Regions from separate parts of the Homo sapiens genome. Here region 2 is linked to region 1. Evidence: promoter capture Hi-C in 16 types of primary human blood cells and fetal thymus (Javierre and others, 2016). All regions are on one chromosome and are shown on one strand. The core of a region is centred on a gene start or on the middle of the fragment in contact, and the rest is flanking DNA. Distances in the headings are between cores, read along the strand shown.

Region 1 (5,335 bases), core at 2,565-5,064:
AGTTTACAAGAACTTCACAAGTTTACAAGAACCCACCTCAGCATCCAAAATATGCAACTGGAGCCTCATTAGTAAATGGCAGAATAACATGGAAACTTCTCCTTTTCATGGTTAGACTGTGAAAGTCTGTCTTTAGTTCATATGGTGGTGGTGGTATAAGGTCTCTCTTTTATTTGTGGAGACACCAGGGAGGAAGTGTGGGAGAAACTTGGGGGTAGATGGCCTTCAGTTGCTCAGTGATGAATAGCACAATTTAAAGCCTAGTGGAAATTCTTAGCAGCCTGAGTGCAAACTTGCCCAGGAATAGCCTTTTAGGACTTTACAACACTTTGCTCTGACTGTGTAACTCTGGGACAGTGTGGCCTAAAGGAAGTTTCACATTTCTGAGCTGGTTTTTTGTTGCAGTCTAAATATCTGTACCCACTTTTGAATAGTTGGGTTCAATTGCTGTCAATTTGTATAGTGCCTAAAGGTTTCAGCTTTTTTGTTTTTGTTTTTGTTTTTGTTTTTCCAGGCAGGACTCAGTCTCATTTATATAAAGTCAGAGTAGGGGGATATATGAAACTGGAGACTTTCTCTGACGGGGTTTAGGAAGCCTTGGCTTTATTGCTTCTCGGCCTTTTGGCTAAGATCAAATGTAGGAAGCCTTGGCTTTGCAGTTAGATGTTTGGAATAGAGTAAGGGTTTTTGTTTGTTTCTTGCTATAGCTAATCTGGAAAAAGAAAACTAGGTATCCCCTCTTTTAAGTCAGAAGTTTACATAAATTCATTTTTTCCTAGGAAGTAAGTGTGAAAAATTTAGACTTCAAAGCCCATTTATGTGGATTTCATTTAATTTAGTAAATTTTAAAAATGCACCTAGCCAAGATCAAGACAGCATGGGAGTTATTCTCAAAAAGTCAGCTCAAAAAGACGAGTAAACAGCAAGCATCTATTAAACTAAAGAAATCAGTGAACTTCAGTTTGTTAGGCCTGGGGAGGGACAGAAAATCCAATGATGAAGGAATTTTTTTTCCTAGAGATTCAAGTAGCCAAGCATACATCTGCTGCTCTGAGCTTCTGTGAATGTGTTCGGAGGGAGGTGATCCATACCACAGGCACCAGCAGCAACAAGGCATCCAGCATGTGGAGGGCTTTTCTACTTCTCTCATGCAGAGAAGAAAGAATACAGCCTCAGTGCCATCCTCTGACACAAATGAACTTGTGTAAATGTCCATTTATGTGTATGTACATAATGTGGCTTAATTCATAGGGTGACAACTGATAACCTGATCCATTTTCAGACTTCATTTGTGACAATGGAGAGTCCAGAGAGACAACCTAGTAAGTGTACCCTAGCTTGAGGTCAGAAAAATGGATGTGTATATAGTGAGTGGGACTGTGGAACAGTGGGGTGGTGGGGAGTTCCTGAGAATCCATAGAGGAATGTCACAGGAAGGGAGTGAGATAGTGGCATAAGGAGAAAAAAAAACATCAGTACAGAAGATTTAAGAGTCTAGAGCTGTACTGTCTATTATGGTAGCCACTAGCCACTTGTGGTTATGAAAATCTCAATTATATGAAATTAAGGATTCAGTTATTCAGTCACTGTTGACCATATTTCAAGTGCTCAAATAGCTACATGTGGCTAGCGACTTCTGCATTGGACAGCACAGATATAGAACATTTCCATCGCTGCAAAAAGTTCTGTTGGATAGTGCTTGTCTGGAGCAGGGGTTGGCAAACTTTCTGTAAAGGGTCAGATAGCAAATATTTTAGGCTTTACACAGGCCATGCAGTCCTTGTTTCAACTGTTCAACTCTGCTGTTGTAGTAAAAATGCATCTATAGATGATAATGTAAATGAATGAGCTTGGCTAGAGCCAATAAAACTATTTTTTTGTTTGTATTTTAAGACAGTTTCATTCTTGTTGCCCAGGCTGGAGTGCAGTGGCAAGATTTCGGCTCATTGCAACCTCCGCCTCCCGGGTTCAAGCGATTCTCCTGCCTCAGCCTCTCAAGTAGCTGGGATTACAAGCATGTACCACCACGCCCGGCTACTTTTGTATTTTTACGGGGTTTCTCCATGTTGGTCAGCCTGGTCTCGAATTCCCGACCTCACGTGATCCGCCCGCCTCAGCCTCCCAAAGTGCTGAGATTACAGGCGTGAGCCACCGCACCTGGCCTGAAATTTGAATTTCATATCATTTTCACATCATGAAATAGTATTTTGATTATTTAACTGTTTAAAAATGTAAAAATCATTCTAGCTCATGGGACATGTTAAAACAGGTGGTGAGCCTGATTTGACCTGTGAGATGCAGTTTGCCAACCCTTGGTCTAGAGGAACAGTAAATCAAAACTTAAGGTTTGTTTACTATGTGGGACATCTGATCACTTGAAAATTTTTAGTGGTTCTTCGAGGCTTGAGAACTTTCTCTGGCTGAAACTTGGAGTTCACTGCAGGAATGTTTACCTTCCTTTGTTCCCTATTTTTGCAGTCTAGTTCTCTCCAATGGCAGAGTCATGCTCCTTCAGTGGGAGATGACTACTGGAATGTTTAATCCTTAATTAAATCATGCCTAAGTCTAAAACACTAAACCCTTCTCTGTCTCCACCTGCTAAGTAGCTGAATCCTCACTTGTAACTTTGTCTAGTATACATTGGAAGTTCGCTGTCACCTGGGATCAGTTCTGCCCCTGTACTGTCTAACAACATGACTATTGGTGGACCAAAGAGAGATTATTTTTCCTAGACCAGAAAGGTTTACTTTTATCTTTAGCTATCAACCCCTCCCCCCACCTTTTTATGACCTCACTTTATCTCCAAGTCACATGCTATCTTGAGTGGCACTGTTGAAGGATGCCCCAGGATAAGGGAAAAAAGGTAAGATAAATGCAAAGCAAAATAAAATGGTCAAGGACACAGGAAGGACATAATAGGGGCTAGGATGTGGGAGGCCTTGAGAATTAAGGTAAATTTGTTTGCTATGGAATGAGATGGAAGTCTTAGGAGGTCGTCATGAATAGATGTTTCACAAGTGAAAGCTGGGTGGGAGGGCTCACTTAAACATGGACTGAATGCCTACTGTGCACTAGATAGTATGCTGGGCAATCAGAGATGAATAGCAGATAAGGAAAAATAAAAGCTACAATCCTTAGAATGGTGGGTTGGAGAAGGACAGAATAAGGTTTTTAGATAATAAAAGGCAACAAGATTTAGTGATAGAGGATGGTGAGGGGAAAAGGGATATATAGAGGGATTAGAAATGGGTGCTTTGGGGAGAAAAGCAAGTGGTAATCCTAAAAGAGAAAGCTGGAGAACAAAGGATAAAAAATTAGGAGGTTGGTACTTTGCTGAACTAAGGGGTAAAATGGATGAAACCATCAGGAGCTGTGATTGCTCTTCTGTTCTTTGTGGATGCCCATGTTCAGATCCCCTACGGCCCTTTCCTCTCTGTGGTTGAAGGACAACTACAGAAGAGGTGTCTTCTGTGTTATAAGGTGCAATACTCCCCCCAGAGACCTCTCTATGAGGAAGTCTGATCCAGCGAGAGTTCTACTGCCCACGAGGGGACAGCGTTAGGTTCGAGCTCTCTAATCCAGGTTTCTTTGAGTTTATCTTGGTTCTAACCGGCACGCCGGGTTTTCCAGCATTCCCTGAGCTAAGACTCCCTAATCTGGGCTCCGGGTGAGCGCGCATTCCGAGACCCAGGATTTCGCTCCTTCATCCAGGTTCCGGGTTTCCCCTGCGCTCACCGGCTCCAGACTCCACACAAGCGCGGAATCCGGATCCGAGGGCCTGGCAGTCCAGTGTCCGCGTCTTCCGGGTGACTCTGGTTGTCCCGGATCGCGGCGGCGGCGGCGGTGGCGGCGGCTGAGGGACCCGCGGCCCCGGACACAGCGGCACCGGCCGGGCGGGGCGGAGAGGCGCGGGGAGGGGGCAGAGAGCCAGAGCCGGAGCCGGAGCCGGAGCCGGGGTGGGGTGGGGGGGAGGGGCCGCGGGAACGGATGGCGGCCTGGGCCCCGTAGCAGCGGCGGCTCTACGGCCCGGGGCCCCGGGCGGGCGGAGGTGGCGGCTCCCGGGACCGGCCGCGCGGTGAGTCCGGAGCTTTGTGTGGAGCCGGGACTGGGGGAGGAAAGAGGCGGCGGCACCGATGGGGCGCGGGGCTGAGGGGATCTGATGGGGGCCGGGGGCGGCGGCGCTGCCTGACGGAGGAAGTGGGGGTTGGGGGGGCTGGGGCGGAGCGAGGGGAAGGTGTGTAGGGGGGGTCGTTGCGTGGGTGGGGGAGGGGGCGTCGAGGGGCGCGGGGTGAAGTTCAAAGCGTGGCCACGGCCGGTTCAGGCTGAGGGTAGGGGTGCCCGGGAGGGGATTAGGGTCTGGCTAGGTTATGGGAGCAGGCCAGAGAGTTTCTGAGGCGAGTCTGGGTATGTTGAGGGCGCTCGGGGCGACTGGGGCCAGTCAGGGAGTTGGCGGGGGAGGGGGGGCGGGGGCGGTGGTGGTTGTTCAGAGCATAGGGTCGGAAGCAGGACGTGTGCGTGACCTAGGAGTGGGGAGCAAGGTGGCTGGGATCCTGCAGTAAGTAGGTTGTGGGTGTGTGCCCCTAACAGTCTTCAGGTCACATTTACTCCTGTCCTTTTCTTCAAGATGGAGGGATCCCTGGGCCTGGACCTCAACTGCTATCCTTGTACCCCCGGGAGGGTTTGTGACCCTATCCTGTTTGGAAAACCCATGCTGCCCTCTTTTCCCTTTATGTGTAATTACGGTTGGATCATCTCTGTGCTTTGCTCAGATTCTCCTTCCTCCCTCTGGGGTTGAGGAGGAGGAGACACATCTGACCAATTAATGTGTGTTTGTGAAACAGGCAGCAGCAAACAGTCATTTCAGCTTCGAGGAATTAGGCTCACACAGGGTGGAGAGATCAGAGCCCTTCAGGGGGAATATTTCTGAACAAATCACGGATGATTAAATTCTCTAAGAAACAGCTCCCTACCTAAATGAGAGTGAGAAAGATAGGGAAGAAAGCCTGTCTGTTTCCAGCCATGTGTCCAGAGCCTAAGGGGTTGAGGAGAGTCCCCAAGCCCCTACAGGCCTCCCTTTTCTGTATTAGGCTTTGCTCTGCAGCCTTGAGTTAATTTCACCCCTGCTGCTTTGTCTTGGGGGAGGGAGTGCTGGTTTAGGCTGTTGTGAGGAGATGACTGTTCTGCTGCCACACACAATAGTCGTGTCATTTTATCGGGAGCGCTACCCCAGGGCTGAGAACTGCTGCAGCAGAGATAAACCGGTCCCTCTCACCCGCCTATTGTGTACACAGTGAAGGTCATAGGTTCAAGTCTTGTCTGAGAGCTTTGGATATGC
Region 2 (5,204 bases), core at 836-3,335, 260 kb after region 1:
TTCAGTCACAGGACAAAGCCCTTTGAGAAACAGTCACCAACCTGTGTTCCCACTGGGCTCTGTCCTGGGAGAGGCACAAGAACCCGCCCTGACGCCTGAGAGAAAGACTCTGAAGGCCTCAGGACCAAATCCCTGGAGGGGTCTTGGCGTCTAATGAATCTAGATTGACTGACTTCCCTGGGATGCTTCTGGAACCTTCTGCTAAGCCCTCAGCTTCTTGGCAGAGCTCTATTACTAACTGGATATCAGAATATGGGTGCAAACTAGACATGGGGAGTGAAGTCAGCCATTCTCACAGCATCTACCTAAGAAGGCCAGGATCCTCCACAGCCACGTAGATCGTAGAGCCAGTGGCATGCCGGGGATGATATACAAAGACAAGAAACTCTGAAACAGAGAACACAAACTAACAGCCCATAGGCCAAATGCAGCCCGCAGGCACATGGCTTATTTGGCCAACACAGCATTTAAGAAATGTTTGAGCCGAGGCTGGGTGAGGTGGCTCAGGCCTATAATCCCAGTACTTTGGGAGGCCGAGGCAGGTGGATCACCTGAGGTCAGGAGTTCAAGACCAGCCTGGCCAACATGACAAAACCCCGTCTCTACTAAAAATACAAGAATTAGCCAGGTGTGGTGGTCCATGCCTGCAGTCCCAGCTACCCAGCTGCTTGGGGGGCTGAGGCAGGAGAATCGCTTGAACCTGGGGGGCGGAGGTTGCCGTGAGCTGAGATCACACCACTGCACTCCAGCCTGGGCGACAGAGCGAAACTCCGTCTCAAAAAAAAAAAAAAAAAAAAAATCCCAATTTCTACAGTCTCTTGAAAAATCAGACGATATGGCTAACATTGATGCATATGGCCCCAGGACCACAGCTGATGGGGCTGAATAATGACCACCCTTTAGAAAGACCTTGGACTGTCCATTTTGCCACTGTCCACACCACTCTGTATTGTCTCCAGCAGTGAGGCCGAGTATGAGTTGCTGTTGCTCATCACACTTGAATGGTTATTACACTGTTTTCTGTACCCTCGTCTCATTCAAAAGTGGGGATATGGCCAGGTGTGGTGGCTCACGCCTGTAATCCCAGCACTTCGGGAGGCCGAGGCAGGTGGATCACTTGAGCCCAGGAGTTTAAGACCAAACTGGGCAACATGGAGAAACCCCATCTCTACTAAAAAAAAAAAAAAAAAAAAGTGGGGACACGAAAGAAACTAAGAGGGCCACTGTTTGTAGCGAGCACATTTCTACCCCAGCCAGGCCTATCTATAAGCAAATAAAGATGGGATTTCATGTCCTCCCATCAGCTTTTCTGCACCCTCCCTTCTACCTTCCAGTGGCACAGTGCTTAATGACAGCTGCTGACAATACAGTGTCACAGGCCTTGCGCCAAAATTACCCCCAACTCCTTCCCTCACTCCCAAATCACAACTCTTATTATCTAAGTGAGCAACCCCAGTTGCAAAACACAAAGGAGTAATAAGTCCTGTAGAAATTCTCAGCTCCACCCCAGCCCCTGGTTGCCAATGACCCTGTGAAGAAGCTAAAACTCCTTAGCTCGGACATTCTGTCACAGAGAGACCTGCAGCATGTGCCAGATGAACTTGCATCAACTGAAAACCAAGGTCACCTCTGGAGACCAGAAATGGAAGTGACAGTCCCAGGCCTATTCATAAAGCTTCAGTTTTTTACAAGGAGATTGTAATCATGCAAAACTTGCGTAATTAAAATTAATAATAAACAGAAATGCCTCAGCCTAGTTCCTGTGAGTCTGACCCCAACTTACATTTCCAGGTTTTTTTTTTTTTTTTTTTTGAGACGGAGTCTCACTCTTGTCACCCAGGCTGCAAGCTCCGCCTCCCGAGTTCACACCATTCTCCTGCCTCAGCCTCCTGAGTAGCTGGGACTACAGGCACCTGCCACCACGCCCAGCTAATTTTTTTTTTTTTTTTTTTTTTTTGTATTTTTAGTAGAGACAGGGTTTCACTGTGTTAGGCAGGATGGTCTCGATCTCCTGACCTCGTGATCCACCTGCCTCGGCCTCCCAAAGTGCTGGGATTACAGGCGTGAGCCACCACGCCTGGCCTTTTTTTTTTTTTTTTTTAAGACATGGTCTCACTCCAGTGCCCAGGCTGGAGTGCAATAGCGTGATCTCAGCTCACTGCAACCTCCACCTCCTGGGCTCAGGTGATACACCCTGCCTTAGCCTCCTGAGTAGCTGGGACTACAGGTACATGCCACCATGCCCAGCTACTTTTTGTATTTTTTGTAGAGATAGGGTATCTCTCTGTTGCCCAGGATGGATACATTTCCAGTTTATCTCAGATTACTCCCTTCCATGAACAAGTCCACTCACAGAACCCTCTTTCTCCTACAAAGAACGTCTTTCTCCTCCTCCTTTGTCAAGCAACCTCTAGCTCATCTCTCAAGACTGTAGTCTTTCAATAATTTAGCTCATGCATACCCTAAACATTTTTAAAAATTATGTACCCCTTCAATAAAGCTTGTTTTAAAAGTGAAGTTTTTAGGCTGGGCATGGTGGCTCACGCCTGTAATCCCAGCACTTTGGGAGGCCGAGGTGGGTGGATCACCTGAGGTCAGGAGTTCAAGACCAGCCTGGACAACATGGTGAAACCCCGTCTCTACTATAAATACAAAAATTAGCCGGGCGTGGTGGCAGGTGCCTGTAATCCCAGCTACTCGGGAGGGTGAGGCCAAAGAATCGCTTGAACCCAGGAGGCGGAGGTTGCAGTGAGTAGGGATCACACCATTGCACTCCAACCTGGGAGACAAGAGCAAAACTCTGTCTCAAAAAAAAAAAAAAAGGGGAAATTTTAAAATTTGATTTAAAAAAAATTTTAACCATGTTTAAATAGTTGCAAAAGGCTGGGCACAGTGGGACATATCTGTAATCCAAGCACTTTGGGAGGCTATGGTGGGAGGATTGCTTGAGGCCAGGTGCTCAAGGTTACAGTGAATAATGATCATACCACTGCATTCCAGCCTGAGTGATAGACTGAGACCCTGTCTCTACAAAAAAATATAAAAACAGTTTCGAAGGATGTGATTTCTTTGCAATTTTTTTTTGTATTAGAAATATTGAAGCTGGACACAGTGACTCATGCCTGTAATCCCAGCACTATGGGAGGCCGAGGCAGTGGGCAGATTGCTTGAGGCCAGGAGTTTGAGTCCAGCCTGGCCAACAAAGCAAAACCCCATCTCTACTAAAAGTACAAAAATTAGCCGGGCATGGTGATGCGTACCTGTAATCCCAACAACTCAGGAGGCTGAGGCATTAGAATTGCTTGAACCTCGGAGGCAGAGATTGCAGTGAGTTGAGATCAACCCAGTGCACTCCAGCCTGGGTGACAGAGTGAGACTCTGTCTCAAAAAAAAGAAAGAAAAAGAGGCCAGGTGCAGTGGCTCACGCCTGTAATCCCAGCGCTTTGAGAGGCAGAGGCGGGCGGATCACTTGAGGTCAGGAGTTTGAGACCAGCCTGGCCAACATGGTGAAACCCTGTCTCTACTAAAAATACAAAAAATAGCCAGGCGTGGTGGCGTGTGCATGTAATCCCAGCTGCTTGGGAGGCTGAGGCAAGAGAATCGCTTGAACCCAGGTGTCGGAAGTTGCAGTGAGCCAAGATCATGCCACTGCACTCTAGCCTGGGCGACAGAGTGAGACTCCCTCTCAAAAAAAAAAAAAAAAGAAAGAAAGAAAAAAAGAAAAAGTAAGCTGTTCTTTAGCACAGGAAATTTTACATCACTCCTTTTTCTCCTTGAACTTGTATTTTCTTTTTACTTCTCTCACATAATGCTTTCCTAATACAATATGTACTTTATCCCTTTTTTTTTTTTTTTTTTTTTTTTGAGATGCAGTCTTGCTGTGTTGCCCAGCCCAGGCTGGAGTGCAATGGCACAATCTCAGCTTACAGCAATCTCCGCCTCCCGGGTTCAAGCGATTCTCCAGCCTCAGCCTCCCCAGTAGCTGGGATTATAGGTGCCTGCCACCACGCCCAGCTAATTTTTGAATTTTGAGCAGAGACAGGGTTTCACCATGTTGGCCAGGCAGATCTTGAACACCTGACCTCAGGTGATCCACCCACCTCAGCCTCCCAAAGTGCTGGGATTATAGGCGTGAGCCACTGCGCCCAGCATTTTTTTTTTCCCCCAAGATGGAGTTTCACTCTTGTTGCCCAGACTGGAGTGCAGTGGCGCGATATCAGCTCACCGCAAGCTCTGCCTCCCGGGTTCCAGCGATTCTCCTGCCTCAGCCTCCCGAGTAGCTGGGATTATAGGCATGCACCACCACGCCCAGCTAATTTTTGTATTATTAGTAGAGACAGGGTTTCTCCATGTTGGTCAGGCTAGTCTCAAACTCCTGACCTCAGGTGATCCACCCACCTCAGACTCCCAAAGTGCTAGCTAGGATTACAGGCGTGAGCAACTGCACCCGGCCAAGAATTCTTAAATATAAGACACAAAATTGTATAGGAAATACAACTTATATTGAGAGAGATGTTCTCATGCTAGAGTGAGACAGTGATAAGCATCAATGTTTTTGTTGGCTGGTTGGTTGTTTTTCTGAGACAGAGTCTTGCTCTGTTGCCTAGGCTGGAGTGCAGTGGTGCAAATGTGGTTCACTGCAGCCTCGACCTCTTGGGCTCAGGCAGTCTCCTGCCTCAGCCTCCCACGTACATGGGAATACAGGTGTGCATGACCATGCTCAACTAATTTTTTGTAGAGACAGGGACTCACTTTGTTGCCCAGGCTGGTCTCCTGGGCTCAAGCCTTGGCCTCTCAAAGTGCTGGGATTACAGGTATGAGCCATTATGCTTAGGCTGTGTTTTCGTTGTTATTGTTGTCTTTTTTTTTTTTTTTTTTTTTTGAGACAGTCTGACTGTGTTGCCCAGGCTGGAGTGCAGTAGCTATTCACAGGCATGATCGTAGTTCACTGCAGCCTCAAACTTCTAGGCTCAAGTGATCCTCCTGCCTCAGTCTCCTGAGTAGCTGGGACTACAGGTACATACCGCCACACCTGGCTAGGCTCAATTTTATTTCAACGTTTCAATCTCACACATGGTAATGCTGAGGTATCTTATTCACATAAGTACCTGGGAAAGGAAGAAGTTCTAGCAGAGTCACTCAATACCACCTAATCATCAAGCAGATGACAACAAAATTTGTTTCAGGTCCTTCCATTCAAAAGC

Evidence for each region. Contacts are between HindIII fragments. The CHiCAGO score rates a contact against its expected background, and 5 or more counts as called.
Region 2: a contact is called between a fragment that was not itself captured here and the fragment with the promoter of ZNF609 in region 1, in 1 of 17 cell types (activated CD4 T cells). The highest score is 6.0, in activated CD4 T cells.

What each region holds. Positions count from the first base shown.
Region 1 is chr15:64,456,764-64,462,098 of GRCh38, forward strand. It overlaps ZNF609 (zinc finger protein 609), which reads left to right and starts at 3,815. Exons shown (of 10, transcript NM_015042.2): 1 at 3,815-4,075. LOC105370861 (a long non-coding RNA gene) reads right to left here and starts at 3,824. Exons shown (of 3, transcript XR_932367.3): 1 at 3,736-3,824. RefSeq lists an enhancer at 3,337-3,406 and silencers at 3,867-3,986, 4,047-4,146. The HindIII fragment of the contact is 12,937 bases long and covers 1-5,335 here.
Region 2 is chr15:64,718,826-64,724,029 of GRCh38, forward strand. LOC124903507 (a long non-coding RNA gene) reads left to right here. Exons shown (of 3, transcript XR_007064679.1): 3 at 1-1,744. Among named protein-coding and RNA genes, the nearest start is that of OAZ2, 18 kb to the left of the region's middle. The HindIII fragment of the contact is 825 bases long and covers 1,674-2,498 here.